3 separate regions of the Homo sapiens genome follow, and regions 1 and 3 are each linked to region 2. The links are contacts of gene promoters, found by promoter capture Hi-C in blood cells and fetal thymus (Javierre and others, 2016). All regions are on one chromosome and are shown on one strand. The core of a region is centred on a gene start or on the middle of the fragment in contact, and the rest is flanking DNA. Distances in the headings are between cores, read along the strand shown.

What was found. Contacts are between HindIII fragments. The CHiCAGO score rates a contact against its expected background, and 5 or more counts as called.
Region 1: a contact is called between a fragment that was not itself captured here and the fragment with the promoter of HMX2 in region 2, in 1 of 17 cell types (total CD8 T cells). The highest score is 5.6, in total CD8 T cells.
Region 3: a contact is called between a fragment that was not itself captured here and the fragment with the promoter of HMX2 in region 2, in 1 of 17 cell types (naive CD4 T cells). The highest score is 5.6, in naive CD4 T cells.

Annotation. Positions count from the first base shown.
Region 1 is chr10:122,412,410-122,416,060 of GRCh38, forward strand. PLEKHA1 (pleckstrin homology domain containing A1) reads left to right here. Exons shown (of 12, transcript NM_001001974.4): 6 at 511-636; 7 at 3,450-3,593. Among named protein-coding and RNA genes, the nearest start is that of MIR3941, 2.7 kb to the right of the region's middle. The HindIII fragment of the contact is 347 bases long and covers 1,420-1,766 here.
Region 2 is chr10:123,146,087-123,149,809 of GRCh38, forward strand. It overlaps HMX2 (H6 family homeobox 2), which reads left to right and starts at 2,050. Exons shown (of 2, transcript NM_005519.2): 1 at 2,050-2,560; 2 at 3,484-3,723. The coding sequence starts at 2,293. RefSeq lists silencers at 1,920-2,239, 2,630-2,759. The HindIII fragment of the contact is 9,748 bases long and covers 761-3,723 here.
Region 3 is chr10:122,376,677-122,380,767 of GRCh38, forward strand. The region is part of intron 1 of PLEKHA1 (pleckstrin homology domain containing A1); the gene reads left to right. Among named protein-coding and RNA genes, the nearest start is that of PLEKHA1, 4.0 kb to the left of the region's middle. The HindIII fragment of the contact is 407 bases long and covers 1,205-1,611 here.

The DNA.
Region 1 (3,651 bases), core at 343-2,842, 730 kb before region 2:
AGGAAAGACTGAATATGCCACAATCCCAGAATCATGGGTAGGAATGGAGAAAGGGAAGAAAACAGCAAAGAGCTGTAAGCCAATAGTAAGTGTGCCAATAAACAGGGTCTAGAGCACAGCAGTTGGGCTTGGAAGAGTTACACACACTTGGCTAGAATGTATTATAGTCAGGATCTGAATCTATATTCCCTAATGCCCCTGAGCCTATTTCCTTACCTCTTAGGTGGGGGTAGAGCCCCTATGCATAGGGTAGACAGGAGTAGTAAAGGAGAAAAATGTGTGAACTAGTACCTGCCCGAGTAAGCACTCATTACGTGATAGCTATATTATAAAATATTATTCTAACAGAAAAATTAGTGTGATAACTTAAGGAGTACATACATGGACTATAATTTTTATATGTATCTGTCAACCGTATGCAAACGGATGAATAATTAGAAATTCTGCGAGAAAACAGGTTCACATGTATAATGCTGGTTGCAAAATGATTCATTTTATTTACTATTTCAGGTACCAAAGCAGTCAGACTCACAGCCTAATTCTGATAACCTAAGTCGCCATGGTGAATGTGGGAAAAAGCAAGTGTCTTACAGAACTGATATTGTTGGTGGCGTACCCATCATTACTCCCACTCAGGTAATTAAGTAACTCTTCTATTGTGTGAGGGTCTAATTATTGTATATTGATTTTTATATTATTAAAACTAAAACAGTGCATCTTTGCTTAATTGGTATAATATACAATTACTATAAAATATTTTTGTTTATTTCAAAAGTATTTATTATAAAAAATTTGGAAATTACATAACATTTAAAACTTCTCATGATTTCTCTGAGCCTTTCTTCATGTACTTTTCACCTCAGAAATGGAGATATGAGTTGTATATTACATTTTGTAAACAGATTTTTTCACTTGTATCATGAACATTTTCCAAGTCATCAGAAATCCTTTTATATCATTTTTAATGAGTGCATAGTAGTTCTTCCATGGATTTACCATAAATTACAAATCCTCTATTGGACAAATAGAGTTCCTTTTCCTTTTTGTTTCTTTTACTTTATAAACAATGCTATGATGAATATTCTTAAAGGAGAAATTCCTAGAAATAAAATTGCTGAGTCAAGAGTTTGCAAGTAGTAATTTTTAAAATCTATTTTTTCTACAACCTGGCCTAAGTGAGCTAAACAGAAGACTGGAATTTTAACTAAGTTATATCTCAGAAGTACTAATATGCTAAATTAAGTCTTTATTTGAGTTTTAGGAAAAATATAAATTTACATACAATTTTTGATGAAATTAAAACTCTTGTCTGAGCTTGAATTTCTTGTTTTGCTATTGAAAAGGATGAATTTGTAATGGATATTAAGTTACTAGTAGTTGAGAAACCAAGAATTTTAAAGTAATCAATTGGTATTGCCAAGCTTGGGTATTTTCATTACCAGTGTGCCTTTTGAACTCAAAAGACTTTGACACTTTATAAATCTTTTAAATCAAATTGTATCATTCCCCACATTTTTCAGGTCTTTTGCTACGGGAGGGTGATTAGTGGGATTAGAAATCTTACAACATTAATTAATTAATTAACTATTGAGTGCTTTCTTTATGCTTGGCAAAGGGTATGTTAATGAACAGAAATTCCCTGCTGTCATAGAGCATACATTTTCCACCAAAGTTGGATAAAAAAATAAGCTAGGATTGTGTGTTTACTTTTTCCAAAAGTAATGATTTTAAACTGTTAACCTTCTGGTTACTATGTACCTAGATTAAGCTTCTTTCACTGGTATTATGACCTATGTTGACATAAGGGGTAAGACTATTTTCCTGTAGTTGTGTTAAGACACTGTATTAGTTTGTATCTGTGGCTGTTTTAATTTTGTCTAGAGTTAAGATTTTGTTGCATTGTAATTTTGGTATAGATATTTCAGTAGTTTCTAGGATTTTATGGAGGGTATAATTTTATTGCATCATTTATTTTGTAGTATAGTTTTAAAAATTATAAAATAATATATGTCTATCATAAAAGGCAAAAATTGGTAAATTGGACCTCATCAAAATAAAAAATACTTGCTCTATGAAAGACCTTCTTAAGAGGATGAAAAGAAAAGCTACAAACTGGGAGAAAATATTTGCAAACCACATGTCCAACAAAGGACTTTTATCTAGAACATAGAAAGAACTCAGAACCCAACAGTAAAAAGCCCAAGAAATCCAATTAGAAAATTCATGAACAGATATTTCATCAAAAGATAAAAGATAAACAGATGGTAAGTAAGCACATGAAAAGATGTTCACCATCATTAGCTAGCAGGGAAAAAATACAAATTAAGAGCACAATAAAAGATCACTGCACACCTCTCAGAATGGCTGAAATAAAAGTGACGACACAAATGCTGCCAAGGTTGAGGAGAAACATAATCTCTCAGGTGTTGCTGGTGGGAATGAAAATTAGCCACTCTGAAAAACAGTTTAGTGTTTATGTTTTGTTTTTTTTTTAATAATAAAAGTAAGCTTGTGATTACTGTACAACCCAGCATTTGCAGGACTAGGTGTTTATCGTAGAGAAAGGGAAAATTACATTCACATAAAAACTTGTGCATGAATGTTGATAGCAGCTTTTTTCCTAATAGCTAAAAGTGGGAAACAACTCAAATGTCCTTTAATGGGTGAACAGTTAAACAACTGGTCATCCATCCATACCATGGAAATATAGCAATAAAAAGGAATGAACTCTAGATACAAGGAACAGTCTGGACGAATCTCTAGAGAATTATGCTGAGTGAAAAAAGATAATCTCAAAAGATAACCTTCTGTATGCTTCCATTTACATTACATTTTCAAAATGTCAAAATTATAGTCTTGGAGAACAGATTAGTGGCTGCCAGGGGATTTAGGGGTAGGAACTCTAAAGTTCACAAAGGAGCCTTGGGGTGATGACCAATTCTGGGTCTTAAATGTGGTAGTAGTTACACAGATCTACACATGTGATAAAACTGCATAGAACTGTATAGACACACATAGATGAATGTATGTAAAACTGGTGGAATCCGAATAAAGTTTGTGGGTTGTGCCAATGTCCATTTCTTGTTTTTTGATAATGTTACGCCGTTTCCCTTTGAGGGGAAACTAGTGAAAGGGTACATAGGACCTGTTGTACTTTTTTTGGGCAGCTTCTGGTGAATCCTTATAATTATTTCAAAATAAAAAGTTAACTCCTTCCCCAAAAAAGAGCACTGGTGGCAGGACTTGTGCAAAACAAGAGGAATGGAAATTTGTGCTTTAATCAGTGACAGGAAAATTAAGAGTAAGTATCTCAGATTAATTAGAAAACTCTTCAAAAATCTGTTTCTGACTAATCTAAGGTGGATTTTAAGATTTTCTACTGGGATAATATGAAATAAAAGTATGCTAAACAAGCAAGAAAATAATTTATTTATTTTGCTTCATTTTAGAAAGAAGAAGTAAATGAATGTGGTGAAAGTATTGACAGAAATAATCTGAAACGGTCACAAAGCCATCTTCCTTACTTTACTCCTAAACCACCTCAAGATAGTGCGGTTATCAAAGCTGGATATTGTGTAAAACAAGGAGCAGTGGTGAGTAGCTTAACAAAATACATGAAATAATGAAAAAGGATTACGTTCTAGCAAACTC
Region 2 (3,723 bases), core at 800-3,299:
AGTTCCCCTCGGGGCTGCCTTGACCCTGGCTCCGGAGGCAGCGCCTAGCTCAGGATGTCTGCGAGAAGCGGATGGTTAGTGAGAATCCGACGATTCTTTCGCTGAACCTCCCGCGTACCCCCCAACAGCGCGGGAGCACGCGGGACCCGCTGCGACGTGGCCCAGGAGCCTGCGCCGCCGCGGCGCAGAGGAGAACGCACAAATTGTATTTCAGCGCCAGGTCCTTCCGGGTTAATGAGCTGACACCATGATTAAAGCTGACCATTTGTAATGTGTCTCGACCCTGCCGCTGAGCCCTGAAGAGGTTAATGCGGTGACGGAGGCCGGCACCTGCCCCTCGCTGGCCTCCCGGGCCGCTGCGCGCACCCCCTGGCCCCCGCCCCCTCGCCTGCCCCTGCCCCGGCTGCGCGGCCGACTCCTAATCAATTAGCCCATTAACGAGCCCCTCGAGGAGTTAAGTAGGGAAGAGTTCTGCCACGGGCAGGGCCGCAGTCGGTAACTCACCGCGGCTAATGATATTATAAGCGCTTTACTTAATAACCCGGGCGCGGTGCAGGCGAGGAAGGAACTGCACAGTCATGCAGTGTCTGGACATTTGTGGGGACTGATTCCAGAGTCTCCACTCACCCTTGGCTGCACTTGGGGGGCACCCTAAAGACAGGGCTTCTGGAATCTCTTGGCCAAGAGGTCTAGAGGTCACAGCTTGAGGGGACGGGGTTGCCTGAGCACTTCGGGCCTTGCCTCACTTCAGTTTCCAGGAAGCTTGTGCAGACGACTGTGGCCCCAAACCGCTTTGCTTGGCTGGGCTAATTCTAGCTCGGGTAACAGCTGATCTAGGAATTAAAGGGGCGAGAGCCAGGGCACAGAAGGGGGCTATGAGAACACAGAGGGAATCACTATTTACTGAGCACCACGGTGTGCCAGGCTCGGTGCTGGGTAGTTTGACCTCACAACAGCCTCTGCGAGGGAGGCACTGCTTCCTCCAATTTTAGGAATAAAGAAACCGAGCCTCAGAATTTCCAAATGTCTTCCCCCAAGATCACCCAGCCGAGAATTGAGTCGAGTCTGCTCAATTCTAAAACCGAGTCCTGTCACCAGTTCCTTATCTTCTTCCTGGGAGTAAGGCGTCTATTTCTGCAGCAGTTCGGAAACCTTCAAAATTTACAAAACAAAAACACAGATTCGCTTAAAACACGGGTGGGCCATGGGCTACCCGGCCAGGTTTATGGAGTACCTACTATGCGCTGCTAGTGCTTCGAGGCTTTTAATCCCTACCTGAGGCAATCCGAGAAGTTATTTTCAACTATGAGGGCAGAGAGGCTTTAATCGGCATGAGTTGTGCAAGTTCATGCAGTGTGTAAATAGTTGTGCCGGAATTTGAACCCAGATCTCTTGACTAGAGGTCTTAGGGCTTCCTCCCTCCCCCTAAAGATTCTGTAGGTCCGTAGAACCTGTGACAGGGATGAGGTCTGCAGACGGGGAAGGGGAATGTCTGCTCCCAAGGCTCCTGGCCATGCTGGAGAGGATGAGCGTCCGCCTGGAGACGCCTGCTCCTAACCCACCTCACCCCCACGCAGGGCGCCACGGTCCCAGGAGTGCCGGCTTTGCCCGCCCACTGGGGCTAGAAGGGGTGGAGGGCTGGGGGAGGATGGTGGAGCAGCCTGTACAAGCCCCTGGGAGGCGCGGAGACCCGTCGCCTGCGGAGGCGTCGAGCCACTCCAGCTCCGAGTCCCGCACCGCCCCTGCCTCTGGAGAGAAGGGTCCAAGGGGTCCAAGGAGTCGGAGTTGCCGCAGCCGCCAGGAACCCGGGCTAGAATCTGCAGCTGCTTTCAGCCCTGGCTGCCCCTGGTTAGACGCCGCTGATGCCCGCCAGGCCCTCGGCGCGCTCTGGGGGCGCACCGGTGCTGTGTGCCTGGCCGGAGCGTTTTGAAATTTTCCGGGGCCGCTCGGCGGCGCTGCGATTGGCCGCGTTCGGGTAACCTCTATGCAAATGAGGCCGCGCCGCCTCCGCGCCGCCGGAGACCCGGCGAGTTGGCGGGCGAGGAAGGGGCATTTGCACCGGGGCTGGGCGGGCGCACCCAGAGCCAGGCGGGCAGGAACCCCTGCGCAGCCATCCGGTGCCTGCATGTCCCTGGCGCGGAAGGGACGCCTCACCAGCCTCGGCGCCCCCTCCCCCTAGATTTCCTCCCCGCCCCTCCCCACTGCCTGCCTGCTGCACCACCTTCCACCCAGATCACCCAGATCGTCTCTAAAGGGAGTTCTTGGTTTCCTTCGATTTCTTATGAACCCAGGATGGGCAGCAAAGAAGATGCGGGCAAGGGGTGTCCGGCGGCCGGTGGCGTCTCCAGCTTCACCATCCAGTCCATCCTGGGCGGGGGCCCCTCGGAGGCACCGCGGGAGCCCGTCGGCTGGCCAGCCAGGAAGCGCAGCCTGTCCGTGTCCTCGGAGGAGGAGGAGCCGGACGACGGCTGGAAGGCGCCCGCCTGCTTCTGCCCAGACCAGCACGGCCCTAAGGAGCAGGGCCCCAAGCACCATCCCCCCATCCCTTTTCCTTGCCTGGGTAAGGATCGCACGTCGCCAGTGTGGCAGCGAGCGAGCGCGAGGGGAGGGAGGCTGAGCGCCCCGCCAAGACTCCCGCGCCGGGCCCCCTCTGGCCAGAGCTGCGGCAGCCGGGGGTTCGGGACCGCGGGGAGAGGGGCGCGCACTGTGGTGCCTCCTCCGCCCGGTGGGCCCCTGGGAGCAGGCGAACACAGACCCGTGCCGGCTTGGGCTTCCTGGGGAAGGTTGAGTTGTTGAGAGAGTGGACCACAGCGAGAGGGACACGCGGCCGGCCTTACACCCGGCTGTCCTCAATCACTGCACATCTGGTACTTTCTTTCCGGACACGAGGTGGAGATCTGCAAGTCGGGTCTGGGCAGTCTGTCTCCACCGTAATCTCTTTCTGAGTCTTCTTCCTCACTCGCTCCGTATCTCTGCCTTTCTCTCTCTCTCCTCCTTGGAATGATTAGCACTCCAAGATGATTGACAATGGTGCATTTCAGAGACGGTTCCTCTTTACAACATTTGACGAAGGGGAGTCCTGCGTTAGTCCTTAGCGTGATTTCCAAACAAACGGCCTGTGAAATGATGCCACCCTATAAAGCTCGAGGAACTCTTCCAGCTCAATTACCACCAAGCAAATTCGCCTTTTAAAACCATGCTAATGTTTCCCCCTCCAGACCTCCTCTCCCTGTTGCCCCTGGCCCATTCATAAAGGTGGGAGCACAGAGACCCCATACTCCAAGTAGCTGGGTCCCTCTCTTGTCGCTTTTAAAGGACGGGGTGCTGGGTTTGGGGGGCCAGTGAGAGGGATAAGAGGAGGGGATTGGTAAGGTGGGACCAAGGCTGCAGGCGCTTGCCAACCGCTTGGTCCCAGGGAGAGCTGGCGGTCTCCGAGGCTCCCCAACCAACTCCATGGCCTTTCTGTCTGTTCTCGCTCCTCAGGTACCCCCAAGGGCAGCGGAGGCTCGGGCCCGGGCGGCTTGGAGCGCACGCCTTTCCTCTCTCCTTCGCACTCGGACTTTAAAGAAGAGAAAGAGAGGCTCCTGCCCGCGGGCTCGCCCTCGCCGGGGTCCGAGCGGCCGCGGGACGGCGGCGCTGAGCGGCAGGCCGGCGCGGCCAAGAAGAAGACGCGCACCGTCTTTTCGCGCAGCCAGGTGTACCAGCTCGAGTCCACCTTCGACA
Region 3 (4,091 bases), core at 158-2,657, 770 kb before region 2:
TAACAAAATAGGAAAGATGGTGTGTAAAATTGAGTTTGTCATAGACTAGGAGAGACAGTGAAACAGGATAAGTATACAATTGTGAGGAAACTGCCATGAGTTCATAAGCCGGAAGGACCTTTTTAGAAGTGTTTAAGGATGTTAAGAATAGCATTGGATTCTTTTCTTTAAAAGTCATTCAAGTATCGTTTGCTAACATATAGGATATGACAATATTGACCACTCCTAGGAAGATACTTGGGAAAGGTGGAAACATTTTACATTTTTATGGGGACTTCCCCCCACAAAAAACATTTAATGGAGATTTAAACAAAGTGGCTTTTTGACTTAAGCCTGGAAGTTCTTTATTATTATTAGTCATGCTGCAAATCCCGAAGTTATTTTAATTGTGTGATAATTTGTAACCCAGAATGAAATCTAATAAATAGTTTATTAATATAATTTAAGTCATACTTTGACATTGACATATTGCTTGATGTCAAGTCATTATTGTTTAAATAACTTATTTGAGAATGGGGAAGATAGTTTTCTGAATATAGTGTAGTAATTATTTGTGACAATAGTAACATTGCTTTTATTAGAAAATTTTGGGTTGATATAACTAACTGCCTTAAAGTATTTCCTATTTGATTCCAACTGTGAGCTGAGGTAATATGCAAATAATTACTTTTCTCATGCTGGAGCAGTTTACTTTTGTTAATATTAAAATTTAAATTTCAAGATTAAAAAATCTTGTTTTAGATCTGCAATGATACAATAAAATGACTTCAATAGGAGTTAAATATTAAGATTTGGTTTTAGGTTTTTTGACCATTTGTGAGTACACATCCAGCATTTAAGAATTTATTGACATGGTGTCTGAAAGGAATGCTTTCAGAAAGGGCAGAAAACTTGGTAGCTTTAGATGATTGTTTATAATGCTTAATTATTTTTAGAAACATAAAAATATGGGATGTTTTTATGTAAACATAAAGCATCCTGTTATTTGTTATAGCACTAGAACTCTCTTACACTTACTGAGCAATATTAAACCATTTGACCCTAAGTAACTTTTTTTCTTGTGGGTACTGTCTAATAAGGGATATGTGAGTTTGTGATTCCTAGAAGATGCTTAAGCAAACATATGTTTGCTATTTATTTTAGTAAGCCTTTTAATTAGTTGAATTGATAATATTCAGGAAGATAGGGTTTTTGGGATTTTATAAGCTTTCTTTGAACTGGAATTTCTGTTGGATATAAAAGAAAATTAGTCATTTAAGATTTTTTTAAGTTAAATAAGTTTTAGAGCAAAATATTGTTTCCTACATGGAACTCTTACCAGGCTTGTCAGTCTGATAGCTTTATTCTCCAGAAAGTTGTGGTTTTTAGCCCTTTAGGCAGCCTAGCCTTTTATGGTTTAACCATTGAACTCTAGATTCTGGATTGAATTTAACCTCTTGAAGGAAAAGACGATCACAGGCACTAGAATTGGAAGTGATGTCAGAGGGCTTCTAATGTAGCATCTTACCCGGTACAGTAAATCCCTCCTGAGAATTTCCATGTCAGGTGTTCCCTCCCATTATTAAGGATGAGAATGCTATTGCATATGTCATCAGGTTATTCAGCAGTCCAAGCTTACTGAGAACAAACACAAGAGTTTTAATGAGTTTTAATTTTCACTATTCACTGCCTTTAACTGTATTTTGTAGGCTCTTTCCCACCCCCCTGTCCCCCACCCCCCATAACATCATGGGTAAATGATAGCTTTTCTGTCATTTACAGTTATCAAAAAGCTCTAGGCTGGGCTCAGTGGCTCATGCCTGTAATCCCAGCACTTCAGAAAGCCGAGGTGGGAGGATAGCTTGAGCCCAGGAGTTTGAGACCAGCCTGGGCAACATGACGAAACCTTGTCTCTACAGAAAATAGAAAAATCAGCCGGGCGTGGTGGCATGTGCCTGTAGTCCCAGCTAGTTGGGAGGCTGTTGTAGGAGGATCCCTTGAGCCTGGGAGGCAGAGGTTCCAGTGAACAGAGACTGTGCTGTGGCACTCCAGCCTGGGTGACAGGAGAGTGAGACCCTGTCTCCAAAAAAAAAAAAAAAACAGAAAAACAAAAACAAAAAATTGCAGTCTATTCCAGTTTGAACATTCAATCTCATATATATTCAATTTAAAGGTTTTTTTTCCCTTCCTTACCCTGTGGTCAGGCCACTTACTTACTGAAGCACTTGGGGTATGGACGGCTTGTGGTAAGCTCCTGGGATACTTCTTTCCTTTCCCTCTTAAGGGATCTATTTGGATACAAATGTGTCAAGAAGAGAAGTAGAAAAAGACAAGTGTTTGTTATCTGGTGCTATTAGAGTCCTCTCTTGATTAACAGTGGCAGGCCATTGCAGTCTACTAATAGGCAACCAAACTGGCATTTTTGGTGAGATCTTGCAGGGAGACTCCTGCTGCACAGTTTCTGGGTATGAAATTTTCTGTAGCTAAACCTTTTCCAACCTACACACCCATCTGCTTGCTCCCATCCTGTCAGTTTACCCACTGGTTACGTGAATGTGTGTGAGTCGGGGTGGAGATCTTTTCTCTCTGCAGCGAGATATTTTGATAATGGCAAAACAACTTCAATCCAGGTACGCTGTGGTTTCTATTCAACCCACTGGAAACTCACTTCCTTGTGATGTCGAATAGTGGCATACAGACTACTTAAGTCTGCCTTCTTTCTGTGCCCTGCCATTTCTCATCAATTCTCTTTGTCCCCCTTTTCAAGTAGACACATGGGGTCAGTCACTCAGTCTGCTGCATAAGCAGATGTGGAACTGGAGAATGGGATGCAAGTCTGTTCTAGGCTCCTCTGATCTTCATGAGTGATTTCTGTTAGAGGCCCCTGCCACTGTTTTGGTGAAGACCTCCTTCTTTTCCCTGCGTTCTCCCTGAAGACTTACAGTTCTTTCCCTCTCTTCTGTCAACTGCTCTTGCAGAGTGGAAGGATGGTGCTGATTAGGGTGCCAGAGCCATGCCTGACTCTACAGATATTTGATCCTCTATGTCTATATATCCTCAGCTTTGTGTTTGTCAGTGATTGTGGGGCAACAGGACTAGTCCCACTCGACATGTTTTAACAAATAATAGTGAAGTCTTGTGGGCCTGTTGAGGTCTCACTGTACAGAATTTAATTTTTCTTTGCTTTTTCTTATATCACTCAGGCTGTTTCTGTGTTTTGCCTTATTTTTTGGCTTCCTGGTTCCTGACTGATGAGGTGTTAACTGTAATTATGTTAATTTATGACTGATTTGTAAGATCTAACTATACCTTAGAGTATGAGTAAAGCTGAAGGAGAAATTTGGGTTGGGAGGCATGTTAATAATATAATTGTGTCTGGTTTTGCCTCATGTAAGTTTCACTAAAAATATAAATTTAAGTGGAAATACAGTATTTGAAACTTTTTCCTTCCATTATTTAAATAAATCAGTTAAATCTGGTAAATGATTCTTGTCTGATGAGGAAGAAACAACTTTCTATCTGGAAACTTAACGTTAATCTTTGATGCAGTAATTATGGGTTACTTCATCCGTCGTTCAACAAATAGTTACTGAGGGTCTTGCATGTGACAGCCACTGTGTTAGGCATTGGAGAAACAACAGTAAATAACAAATCCCTGCTGTCATGGAGCCTACATTACAGTGTGGGGAAACAGACAAGAATCAGGTAAATAAGTAAACTGTATCATTCATTAGATAATCAATAAATGCTAAGGAGAAGAATAACATGGGGAACCAAGGTGGAAGTAGCAAAACGGTTTGGAGGATTTGCAATTTTAGATAAGATCTAAAAGGCAGTGTTCACTGAGAACGTGACTTTGAGTTACAAGTCCCCGAGTGGGAATCTTGTCTGGTGAGTCCAGCGGCCAAATGAATGAGTAAGGTGGGTATTGGGATGGGGTAACAGGGCAGACGAGGCTTAGTGGTCTTTATGAGGGCTTTGGTTTTTAGGTTTTTACTTTGAGTGAGATGGGATCCCATTGAAACAGGTTGTCAACCTTGGCCGAACATTAGAATGATTGGGGAAGCTTTAAAAAAGTACTGATGCCTGGATCCCATCCCAGAATTTCTGAT